Regions from separate parts of the Homo sapiens genome. Here region 1 is linked to region 2. Evidence: promoter capture Hi-C in human tissues and cell types (Jung and others, 2019). All regions are on one chromosome and are shown on one strand. Each heading gives the region's core, a stretch centred on a gene start or on the middle of the fragment in contact. The rest is flanking DNA. Distances are from core to core; before and after follow the strand shown. Region 1 holds the start of TRC-GCA16-1 (tRNA-Cys (anticodon GCA) 16-1). Region 2 holds the start of ZNF746 (zinc finger protein 746).

Region 1 (5,214 bases), core at 228-2,727, 50 kb before region 2:
TTTGCTTTTAGCTGTTGTTGCTTTTAACTCCATGGAGAGACCGAATGGAGTGAGCCCAGCAGGGCATGCTGGGCAAGAGAGGTCCCCCGAGTCCCAAATAAGAATTTCAACTAGTATAAAACGAGGCAGCGAACCCACACGTGGAAGTCTGATACCGCTTGCAGAAGGGAATTGAATAGATGTCTCCCTATTGGTAAGGATGTGGTTTTATTGACTTGAAATAACAAAGCCCGCAAGCAACAACTGATCATCCGCGGGATGCTGCCACAAGGAATAATTGAGCACTCATTCAGACACAGGGGAAACCACTGCCTCTTTCAGTCTTTCTCCCAGATTCCAACAGTCAGTGTTACAGCATTTCACCTTGTTCACCTCCCTGAGAAGACGTTGCAGCTCACTCACCCCAGTGGGCACTGGGAGCCTCTGCTCAGGTGGGAGACAGATGCCCCCCACATGCACATCTGGTGTTTATGAAGCAGATACTGGGGCTTCATAAACACAGAAGGGGCAGGGAAGTAGCCCCAGGGCATAGTGTGGGGCCTCCTGACTAAAAGTAGCTTGCAAACCCCTGCCTATAACAGCCACTTCCTGGCAGTCATTGTGCCACTTAGGAGCCCTCCTCACCGCTCTTCCTTTAGTTCCTTCACTCTGTATAGACCCTGCCAGAGCAGCTCAGGGTGGAGCAGCTGCAGCCATGGGACCTGCTCCAGGCAAGGCCCTATGCTACACAGTCCCTGGGGGTGAGGATTCCAGAGGAGTCAATTCCCTACCCGCCCTTCCAGGGGATGGCCGAGATGAGCGTTCCCACAGGGAAAGTGAAAGTTGCAAGGCTGTTGCGGAAACACCAGGGGTTCCATCTAGGTCTTGCTGCTCATCTCACAGAAAGCCAGTCACTGAGACAAGTATTGTCAGGGAAGAAGGCTTTATCCAGGTGCTACAGACAGGGTGAACAAGAGATCAGTCTCAAATCCATCATCATCAACTGACTAAAATTAGGGGTTTATATAGCAGGGAAGAAATGTAACTACATGTGGGAAAACAGGGATTAACGAGGGGCAAGGAAGAGGAGTTGGCCAACAGGCAGCAGGTGGTCACCTGGGGAATCATGATGGGTGAGGGGTCTGGCTTCTCACTTTCCAGATGTGGGGATCTGGTAAATTTCAGTTTCTTGATACCGTCTGGGAGGATTGCTGGCTGGTTTCCTGAGAAAGGAATTCAGATGACATAAATGTAAATTTCTCCTTGGGTTTCAAGACTGAGAGGGTCAATTTCTAGGTTTATTCAAGAAAAACCATAAACATCAGTTCTATGGGACAATTGGGCCCATTTCAAGGCTCTGAGGATAAGGGTTAATGAGGGGACAGAGTCGCCTGGAGAAGTTCACTGGGGCCTACAAGAAACTAGAGAGGCTTCCTGGCAAAGCTCTATGCTGTCTATCCTCTCTTCTCTCCTTGCAGGAAGATTCCAGTATAATAGACCCGAGGTGAAAAGGCTTTTGTTCAATAAGTAGAAAACTGAAGGGGGGTGGGAGGCACATGGATTTGAACCAGAGACCGCTTGGCCTGCAGGCAAATGCTGTACCTTCAGTTGCACCCCTCACTTGTTACAGCTGTTTCTGATAAGCACTTGTGCAGCCCCATCAGCACCTCGATTTCTTCTTGGTGAGTCCATGGGAACAGCCCCACTGCAAACAACCCATTCCTGCTCTCCTCTTTCCTCTAAACCTCAACCTCCTCCTACCTGGCAGTCCACAGGCCTACAGCTTCTCCTCAGTGGGAAAGACATCAGCTTGGAAAACCACTTGGAAAGCCAACGTTATCCTAGAAAAGCTTTTTAAATGACCCAGCAGGACAAGTCTCCGGATGGCCTTGGCCAACCCGGTGCTTCCCTCTTTTCTTGGTTGTAGTTCTCAGAATAACTAGAGAATGTACTGGGAGTGTTGTCCTGAGATAAGGAGGAACTGTCCTAAACCTGGACTCTGTTCCCATCACACCTAGAACAGGATGTCCTGCAACGCTTTAGCCCAATGATCCAAGTTGCCCTTGGGGTATAAAACTTGACAGCAGAGGGCGTTCAGGGTCCCTCAGCTGCAGTGTGAAGTGGGACACACAGGTGAGACTCCATCTGCCCTGGGCAGGTTCCTGAGCCTTGGGGGACCAGTTCACCCTACATCCCAGGCTTCTGTTGTCCCTTGCCTGCCTGTAAGGAATAAAGTTGCTTTGCTTAACTTGCTGTGTGAGTGTTCTGCATCACTGGACTCGAGCAAGTGGTACAAACTGCAGATTAATAACTGGTACGTGGTGAATCTGCTTCCTAAGTGTTTGCTGAATTTTGCGGCCCAGGAGATCATCTGGTGTTTCTGTGATGTGGGAAGATTAAAAGAAAGAAAAATCAAACCTCACACCTAACAAATCAGAATCTCAAGGTGGGACCCAAGGCATCTGTATACTTGACCACCCTCCCAGGTCATTCTGGTTCTCAGACATGTTTGGCAACTTTGATTTTAGTCTATACTTGCATGTTATATGCCTGAAAGAAAAAACAAAGACTAAAGGCCTGCATGAGTTCACACATCACCTTAATAACAAGATCATAGCTAGAACCACATTCCTAGTTTTGGGACTTTCCATTGCCGCAGCCCAAAGGATGACTAGATTCCTTTCCATCTCTTCTCCCTCCACTTCCTTCCCAGGAACCTCCCCTCAACCTGCCATAGGACCTGGGGCAACCTAAAGGTACCAATTGGTATGTGGTACTAAAAAGAGACTCTTTCCAGGGGGCACCTGGATTTGAACCAAGGACTTCTTGATCTGCAGTCAAGTGCTCTACCCCTGAGCTATACCCCCTCAGCTTCTAGGAGTTTCTACTAAATACCTTTTCACCTATGTTGCAACACTCACATCTATGCACTGAAATTTACGTTGACTCTTAGAAAGTTTTAGAGATTTGGACATTTTGCCTCACAGCAAATTAGCCCTTTTGGCCCTCTTCTTCCTTATTAATCCCTCCCTACTTGGTCCCCTAGAAGCCTCCTCAGCTCACTTCCATCTCGTCTTAGGACCACTTCCAAGACACCTGCTTGAAGAATCATTGCCAAGAGCAGGGCCACTCCTTTCTTCCTTCATCTCCTCCTTAAAGTCCACTAACTTGAATGTGTCCCCACGTCCCTTCTTTCCACCCTCACCCCTACCCCAGTGGATAGAATTGGGGGCTTTTCTGCTCATCTCCTCTCTTTTTATTCTCATGTCAACTATTCTTGGTTTTTTGCATGGTCTTGACTGAACCCAGGAAAGCCCATACCAATAATTCGAATTATTTGAATCCCATCATGGAGCTCAGGAAGCTTCCCCAGCTGTCCCAAGGGGCCTCAGGCTAGAAGCACAACTGAAGCAGCAAGGACCAGAAATGTCTCCTCTGCTGGGCAGACCCCTGCCCTGAGGCACAGCACCACAGGTCCTGCAAAGTGAACCTGGCCCTTGGCCAACATCCTACATTAAGGCCACTTCTGACATTAAAAGGCCATACAGATCTCAAAAATGTAGAGAAAGGACACCCACCCAAAGGGTCACATGAGATGGTGGCAGTGCCTGTGATAACTGTCACGGAGACCAAAGCTCAGAATGCACAGAGGCTCACAAAGGAAAATGCAATCTCTTTGTGTCTTTCTACAGTGCCAAACACAATATTGAGCATAAAAGTTGGGATGCAATAAATATTTATTGGGGGAAGTAAAGACAGCAAAATTGGCAAGGTTAATAACTAAGAATAGAGTTAATATAAATTACTTGAGGTAGCACCAGTCAAATGAACTCTGTTGCTATTTGGTGTTCAGTTCTCCAAACCTGAGCATGCATACTCTTCTGAGCTCAGATTCCATCTTTCTTGCTGGAGGAGATGAGCCAATTCACAGACACGTGGAGCTCTGTCACTGGCTACTCTCTCGGTCTTCTGGCTCCCCCAACAATGGTCCTCTCTTATTGGAAAGGGAAAAGGCAAGGAAGGAATTAAAAGAAATCCTCATGTTAAAATTCTTCTTGTTAAACAATAAGACTCTAAAAAGTCCAAAAGTCTACAACCAGCAACCGTCATACTTAATGGTGCAACGTTAGAAGCATTCTCTTAAAAACTGGAAATGACAAAGATGCGTGGTAGCTTTGTTTCTATTTAAAACCACCAAAAGCTAGAGGTAGTGCATTTAAGACCAAAAAAGTAGGGTTTTTCAGTGGAATAGAAGAAACAAAACACCCATTATTTCAGTGACACTGTGGTTATATAGAAAACACAAAGTAATCTACAAATTATCTGAATTATTAATTTTAATAAATTCAAATAAGTTATACAATAAACTTATTTTAAATCAAATATATTTCCACACACCTGTAACAGAAATGAAATTTCTTAACAGAGTAACAAAAATACAGGCTCCCTAGGAATAAATACAAGTTGTACAAGACCTTTGTTTAGACTATTTTAAAGCTTCATTGAAATATTTAAAGGGTACTTAAATAAGTAGAGAAGTATGCTTTGTTTTTGGATAGGACAAGACAATTTTGTAAAGATACTGCTCTCCAAATTTACAGATTTAATGCAATTGCAATCAAAATCCTAATAGTGATTTTTATAGTAATTGACACACTAATGTTAAAAATTATGTGGGAAAATAAAGAGTTGGGAATAGGTAGAGTTTATCTGAAGAAAAATAATTAGGCAAGGAAACCAGCGCTACCAGATATGAAGACTTATAATGTTATAAGACCGTGTAGTATTGACATAAGGGTACACAAACAAAACTAATGAAGAGAATGGGGATTCTAAAAATTGACTATCCATAGATAGAAACCTGATATATGAGAGAGGCAGCATTGTAGACCAGTGAAGAAAGGGTGTACTCTCTGATAAAAGAGTGCTAGGACAATTAGATATTCATTCACAAAATAAATTCCAAGAGGATTCAAGACCTAAATATAAAAAAATCTTTTTAACAAATTTAGAAAATATGAGAAAATTCTTATGATATTGGAGTAGAAGAAGGATTTTCAAATTAAGACAATATAAAAAAAGATTTATTAATCCATGTATTAATCCATTCTGGTTCATTGCAGTTAAGAAACGTCTCTGTTCTGAAAGCCCTCAGATAGTGAAAAGGTGAGTCACATAGCAGGAAGAGAGGTTTGTGAATCATTGTATCAGCCAAGGTAGAGTAAGAAATCAGAA
Region 2 (5,234 bases), core at 2,346-4,845:
ACAAGATTTAATGGATTGTTAAAGTATGACAATTTATCACACCTTCTGGCTCACCAAGGGCCATTTCAGGCAGCGTCCAGACCCACAGGACATACATTCACTTTTCTCTGTACTCAAGGGCTCTGGTATAGAATATTTTTGAGGCACTGGCCTCCAGCCAGCCAACCCCAGAGGACTGTGAGTCTCCCAGCTCCCAGCAGAAGGAAAGGAGGTAGCTTCTCAGAGCCATGGCCCTGACCATCCGCATCTGCAAATTTCACTGAGGGATTTGAGGCAGGAACTTGGCACTGGCTCCATGGGAGAGACTCCAGGGCCAGCTGCAAGTTCTCCAGCACTTCACCACATCTAACCGCTGCAGGGTAACGCTCAATGTGAGAGCACTCAGACAATGTAAGGGAAGTTAAGCTCGAGCAGACACCACCTGGAGCCCAAGGATGCCTGCTGCAATGCCTGGCCAACTTTCACCATGCCTTTGTATCTGTCAGGATAGGCTAGGTTAAACTGTGGAACAAGCAACCCCCAAACCATGTTACAACAAAAAGTTTCATGTTCATGCTGTAAGTAGCTCATCATGGGATGGCTGGGGAGTCTACTCAATGTCCCCCACCTCCAGGATGCAGGCAAATACAGCACCCACCTCCTCAAATATTGCTGGGTTACCATAGTAGAGGGAAAGAAAAAACATCAGCCAGAACTTGTCACATGGTCCAACCCAGCCAGAAGAAACCAGGAAGTGCCATCCAGCCATGGTCTTCAAGAGAAACCAGCTGGAAATATTTAGTGGGCAGCAATGATTACCACAGTCTTTTTGAAAACCCCAAGCCTGAACTTTTAGGCTGTGTGCCTGGTCCCAGGGGAAAAGCTCAGGCCTAAGGGAGCAGCTGGAAAAATAGAGGTCCACCTGTTCTGCTGTACCTGCTGGAGTATAGGAAGCACTCATAGGGGTGCATGGGTCCATAGTCCCTACATCTACACAGTCTATGTGCAGTATGAACCACACACTTCCTGCCTCCCTGACACCTTGAGTTGACATGTGGTCTCATGTTCTCTAGCCCTTCCAGGCTCCTTCTGGGTGTGTTGAAAATGCTTTATGATTTTTCTTCTAGGAATACTCAGCAGGAAGGTGGAGATGGTAGGGGCTGCAGAAGTATTAGAGCAGAGGAGGGGATGATTCTTTGGACCACAGTTGATCACACCACACAGAGCAATCAATTAAGACTTGTACTAAATCATTACTTTATGTTGCCTAAACCTGCCCAGTATTAGGCACTGCAGGAGAGACAAGAGAAATAAGATATAGTCCCTGCTCTCAGGGAACTTATAATCCAAGAGGTGAGTTAGGAACTACTACCTTGTATTGTAATTTTTTTCTCAGTGCCATATGAATGGCACCGAGAATAAAAATTATTAGAGTTGGGACAATGCAGAGCTTGCTGCAGCCGTGATTGGCATGGAGAGACTTAACTGGAAGAATTAGGGCATATGCTGGTCTGGAAAAGGTGTGAGAACTTCGGGTGGGCAAGAGGAGAGGGGAAAAGCATGAGGAAAGGCACAGGAGTGGAAACTCTCATGCCTGCTTTTGACACCTGTGCCCAAAATGGAGGGAAAGGCTTTGGAAGCCTCATATATCAATCCAAGGAGGTTTATCTTCGTTCTTTTTACAAATAGAGGCTGGAAAACCAGCACCAGAGATGCTCTGCAATAGATGCCTGTCTTCAGTGGAGGACAGAGCAAGTCATCATTACCCTAACTTGGCTGTCTGCAGAGCCCCAGCTTCACCCTTACCTCAACCCCTACAAGGAACTTGTTAAAAAGAGACCTTCTTTTAAAATAAGTTTTCTCCACATTACTCAGGACCCATCCCAAAGACATTTTGATTCAGTAGATATGAGATGGGATCCAGAAATCCATATCCTTCACAAGCTTCCCCAGAGACTGATGCAGCTGCTCTGAGAGCCAGGCTTGGAAATTACTACCTAGAGATGACCCTGGCATATCCGACTCAGCCTGTCAAAAGGGAACTTTTTAAATTGCACACTAAAAATGTCTCTTTATTTCTAATGCACTGTATTTCTGTCACCCAGTGGTGTGATCTCCACTCACTGCAACCTCTGCCTCCCGGGTTCAAGCGATTCTCGTACCTCAGCCTCCCCAGTAGTTGGGATTACAGGTGCGTGCCACCACGCCTCGCTAATTTTTTCTATTTTTAGTAGAGACGGGGTTTTGTCATGTTGCTCAGGCTGGTATCAAACTCCTGAGCTCAGGCAATCCACCCATCTTGGCCTCCCAAAGTGTTAGAATTACGGGCGTGAGCCACTGCGCCCGGCCCTAAAATGCTTTATATCTTCCTACATCAATTTTTTTTTGGGCTGTCATCCAGCTCACACCTCTACTACCACCCTCTGGTCTGAAATGCTCTCTGCCTATCAATATTTTGCCAATTCTTCAAGATCCAGCTCAAATTTTATCTATTCTGTAAGGTCTGCCTTCTTTGAAAAAGATTACAGATCTCTCACATATTTTCTTATCAGTGTGTGCTAGGCAGTTGGCTAGTTAGTCTTGGGGAATACACAGATGAGCAAGTCGTGTTCCTGAAAGGCAATGAGCCTCTGAAACTACGTGGGGGCCCGTCCAAGGCGCCCTCCTTCCCCTGCTCTGGTTGGCCTCTTTGAGAACATTTAAATTTTTATTTTTCTCTCCTTGTTTAAAAATACTATCCTTGTCATGGAAAAATAAAAACATGAATTGGAAAAAATTAGAAAAGGCATAAAAACGGCCCGTGGTCTATTAAAGGAATAGACCTTTAATAGAACTACTGAGGCCATGTTGATATATATGCTTCCAAACTTTTCAAAACTGTAATTATACATGTACGCAGTATATGACGCTACATATGTCCTATATTGTTTTAAAATGTTATTTTTAAAACAAAGACAGGATCGTCCTGGACAGGCTTTTTCTCTTAAAACATCATGAACATCTGTTCCTACCAAGACCTTCACCGAAATCATTTTAAATGATGGTATTGCGTCCCATTGCTCATGCCATTAAAAAAATTTACTGTAATAAACCCATTACAGAAAATGCTAAGTGGTTGCCTACCGGGGTTTACCGAACTATATTCCTGTTGTTGGAAGTATTTATTCCATTTCAAACACAGGTGGGCATGAGTTACATCTGTCCTCCCCAAAATAGCCTAAACCTCCAGACCCAGGACCTCGGGCAGCAGAAGTGCCCGTGGGGCGGGGGAAGGGGAGCCGGGCATCCCAGGGCGAGGGGGCCGCCCTGGCCGCGGTCACCCGGGGGACGCCCTGCCCGGAAGCCCGTGCTCGCCCGCGGGCGCGGCCAGGCGGGTCCCATGAGGGGGACCCTTTCAATAACCGAGTCCTCGGGCTGGGCCGCGGGGCCAGCGCAGTGACTCCCCCCGCGCTCGGCAGTCCGGCCGGGGTCGCGGGGTCGCGGGGTCGCGGGGTCGGCCCGGGGTCGCTAGGTCCTCCCGTCGGGCCCCGCGGGCGGGGCTGGGCGGGGCGGGGCGGGGCCGCGGGCAGGCGGGCGCAGCGCCTGCCGTTCGCCTCTCAGGCTGCAGGTGGGGCTGTGCGGCCGCGCTGCCTCCAGGAAGCCTCACGGGCCTTCGTCTGCCGGGCCGCGGCGCCGGCTCCCAGGATGCAGTGTGGACCGGCCGGGCGCTGACGGAGGCGGCGCGACTGCGGGCGGCGCGGCGCAGGGGCAGCCAGCGAGGAGCGGCGGCAGAGGAAAGGCCAGGCAGGCGCCGCCTGCGGAGAGCACCGGGCGGCCGGGCCTGCGTGGTGCCGCGCGCGGCGGCGGCGACGACGACTTCCTCCGGGCCGGGCGGGACAGCGCAGGGCCATGGCCGAGGCGGTCGCGGCTCCGGTAAGGGCGACCCGCGCGCGCAGGGACTCGCGGCCTGGGGGCCCCAGGCGGCCCGGCCCCGGCACACGGCGCCGCAGGCCCTGGGGAGGGGTTCCGGGGTCCGGGCCGGACCACCGGGCCTGGGGCTCCCGCGAATGGGGCGCGGGGTCCGCCGGGGCCTACTGCGCCCGTCGGCCGGGCCCCCACTCCGAGCCGAACCCGAGCGCTGGCGGAACGGTTGTCCCCGCCCCGGGCCGCCCCACGCCAAGTTCTTTGGGCCCTCCGGGGCTTCCTGCCCCCGCCCCAGCCGCTGTCCCCTCCTTCTGGGTGCCCCCCCACCCGCGGCTCCTTTCTCTGCCTGGCGCTCGGCCTGTAGGTCCCTCTCCATCTCCCCCGCAGCGGCCTGGTGGCACCTGGGAGGTGTCCGGCTTCGAATCCGCATACACCGACTCCCACTACGTGCCCAGCTTCCCGGGGTCGGCGCGGAAGGGAATATAGAGCCACGCACTTCCACAAGCCCTGTTGAGGCGTTAGTCTGTCCTCACAGCAAGCCTGTGGGATGGGTACTGGTGTTAATCTCTGTCATACAAAAGAAAAACCCGGGGCCTAGAGAACTTAACTTGCCCAGGCTTACCCAGCTGGAAAGTGTGAAAAGACACACAGTGGCTGTGTGTTCAAGGACCAGGCAGGCAGGTACGCGGGCAATAATCGTGCAAAACAGAAAGGGGTGAGTGCTGGCGCCCAGGTGGAAGCTTGCGGTGGGCTCCGGGGGAAGGAGTGTCAGGGGGCCTCTTGGTACCGCTGTCCACCCCTCCTGGCCTGATGCTCTGCGCCTCTGTGATTTGAGCCGGGCTTTTAGGGAAGGCTAGGATTTCAGGCCCAGCTAGACCGGTGGTGCTTTCAGGGAGGGAGGAGTGCCTGGGCAAAGGCGCAGAGAGACGGGACAGTGCAGGGCGTGTGCAGGCACAGAAAGGAGTCCATGAGCCTGGAGAAGATGGTTTTGGTTTGGAGGCAGTGGGAAAGGAGTCTGCAGAGAGAGACTAAGAAGGGGTTTGCATGCCTGGACTTCATCCTGCGGGTGGGCAGTGGATGAGGGATCCGGCTCCTCTTACCATCAGCTCCTCTCAAGCAAAGAGTTTCAGCTCCCCTGGCAGGAGTCCAAGGACAGCCCCACATATTCCAGCCACTTGTCAGTAAGAAGCTGGGCTGGAGTGAGCAGCGCACAGTCGCCACCTCCCACCACATAGTGTGAAGACCTTACACAGGGTTTCCTGGCCCCATCAGAACTGTAAGAAAACCATGCACCTTGTTGTCCATGAGTAAAAGACTAATATTTTCTTAATAAAGTAGTTTAGCAGAGGTCC

The links. Contacts are between HindIII fragments. The study calls those that stand out against the background at their distance.
Region 1: a contact is called between a fragment that was not itself captured here and the fragment with the promoter of ZNF746 in region 2, in 1 of the 25 tissues and cell types used here (liver).

The regions. Positions count from the first base shown.
Region 1 is chr7:149,544,172-149,549,385 of GRCh38, reverse strand. TRC-GCA16-1 (tRNA-Cys (anticodon GCA) 16-1) reads right to left here and starts at 2,846; the gene lies at 2,775-2,846. It also overlaps the pseudogene ZNF767P. The HindIII fragment of the contact is 7,807 bases long and covers 1-5,214 here.
Region 2 is chr7:149,496,170-149,501,403 of GRCh38, reverse strand. It overlaps ZNF746 (zinc finger protein 746), which reads left to right and starts at 3,595. Exons shown (of 7, transcript NM_001394198.1): 1 at 3,595-3,891. The coding sequence starts at 3,868. RefSeq lists silencers at 3,231-3,900, 4,141-4,200 and an enhancer at 4,334-5,234. The HindIII fragment of the contact is 4,774 bases long and covers 200-4,973 here.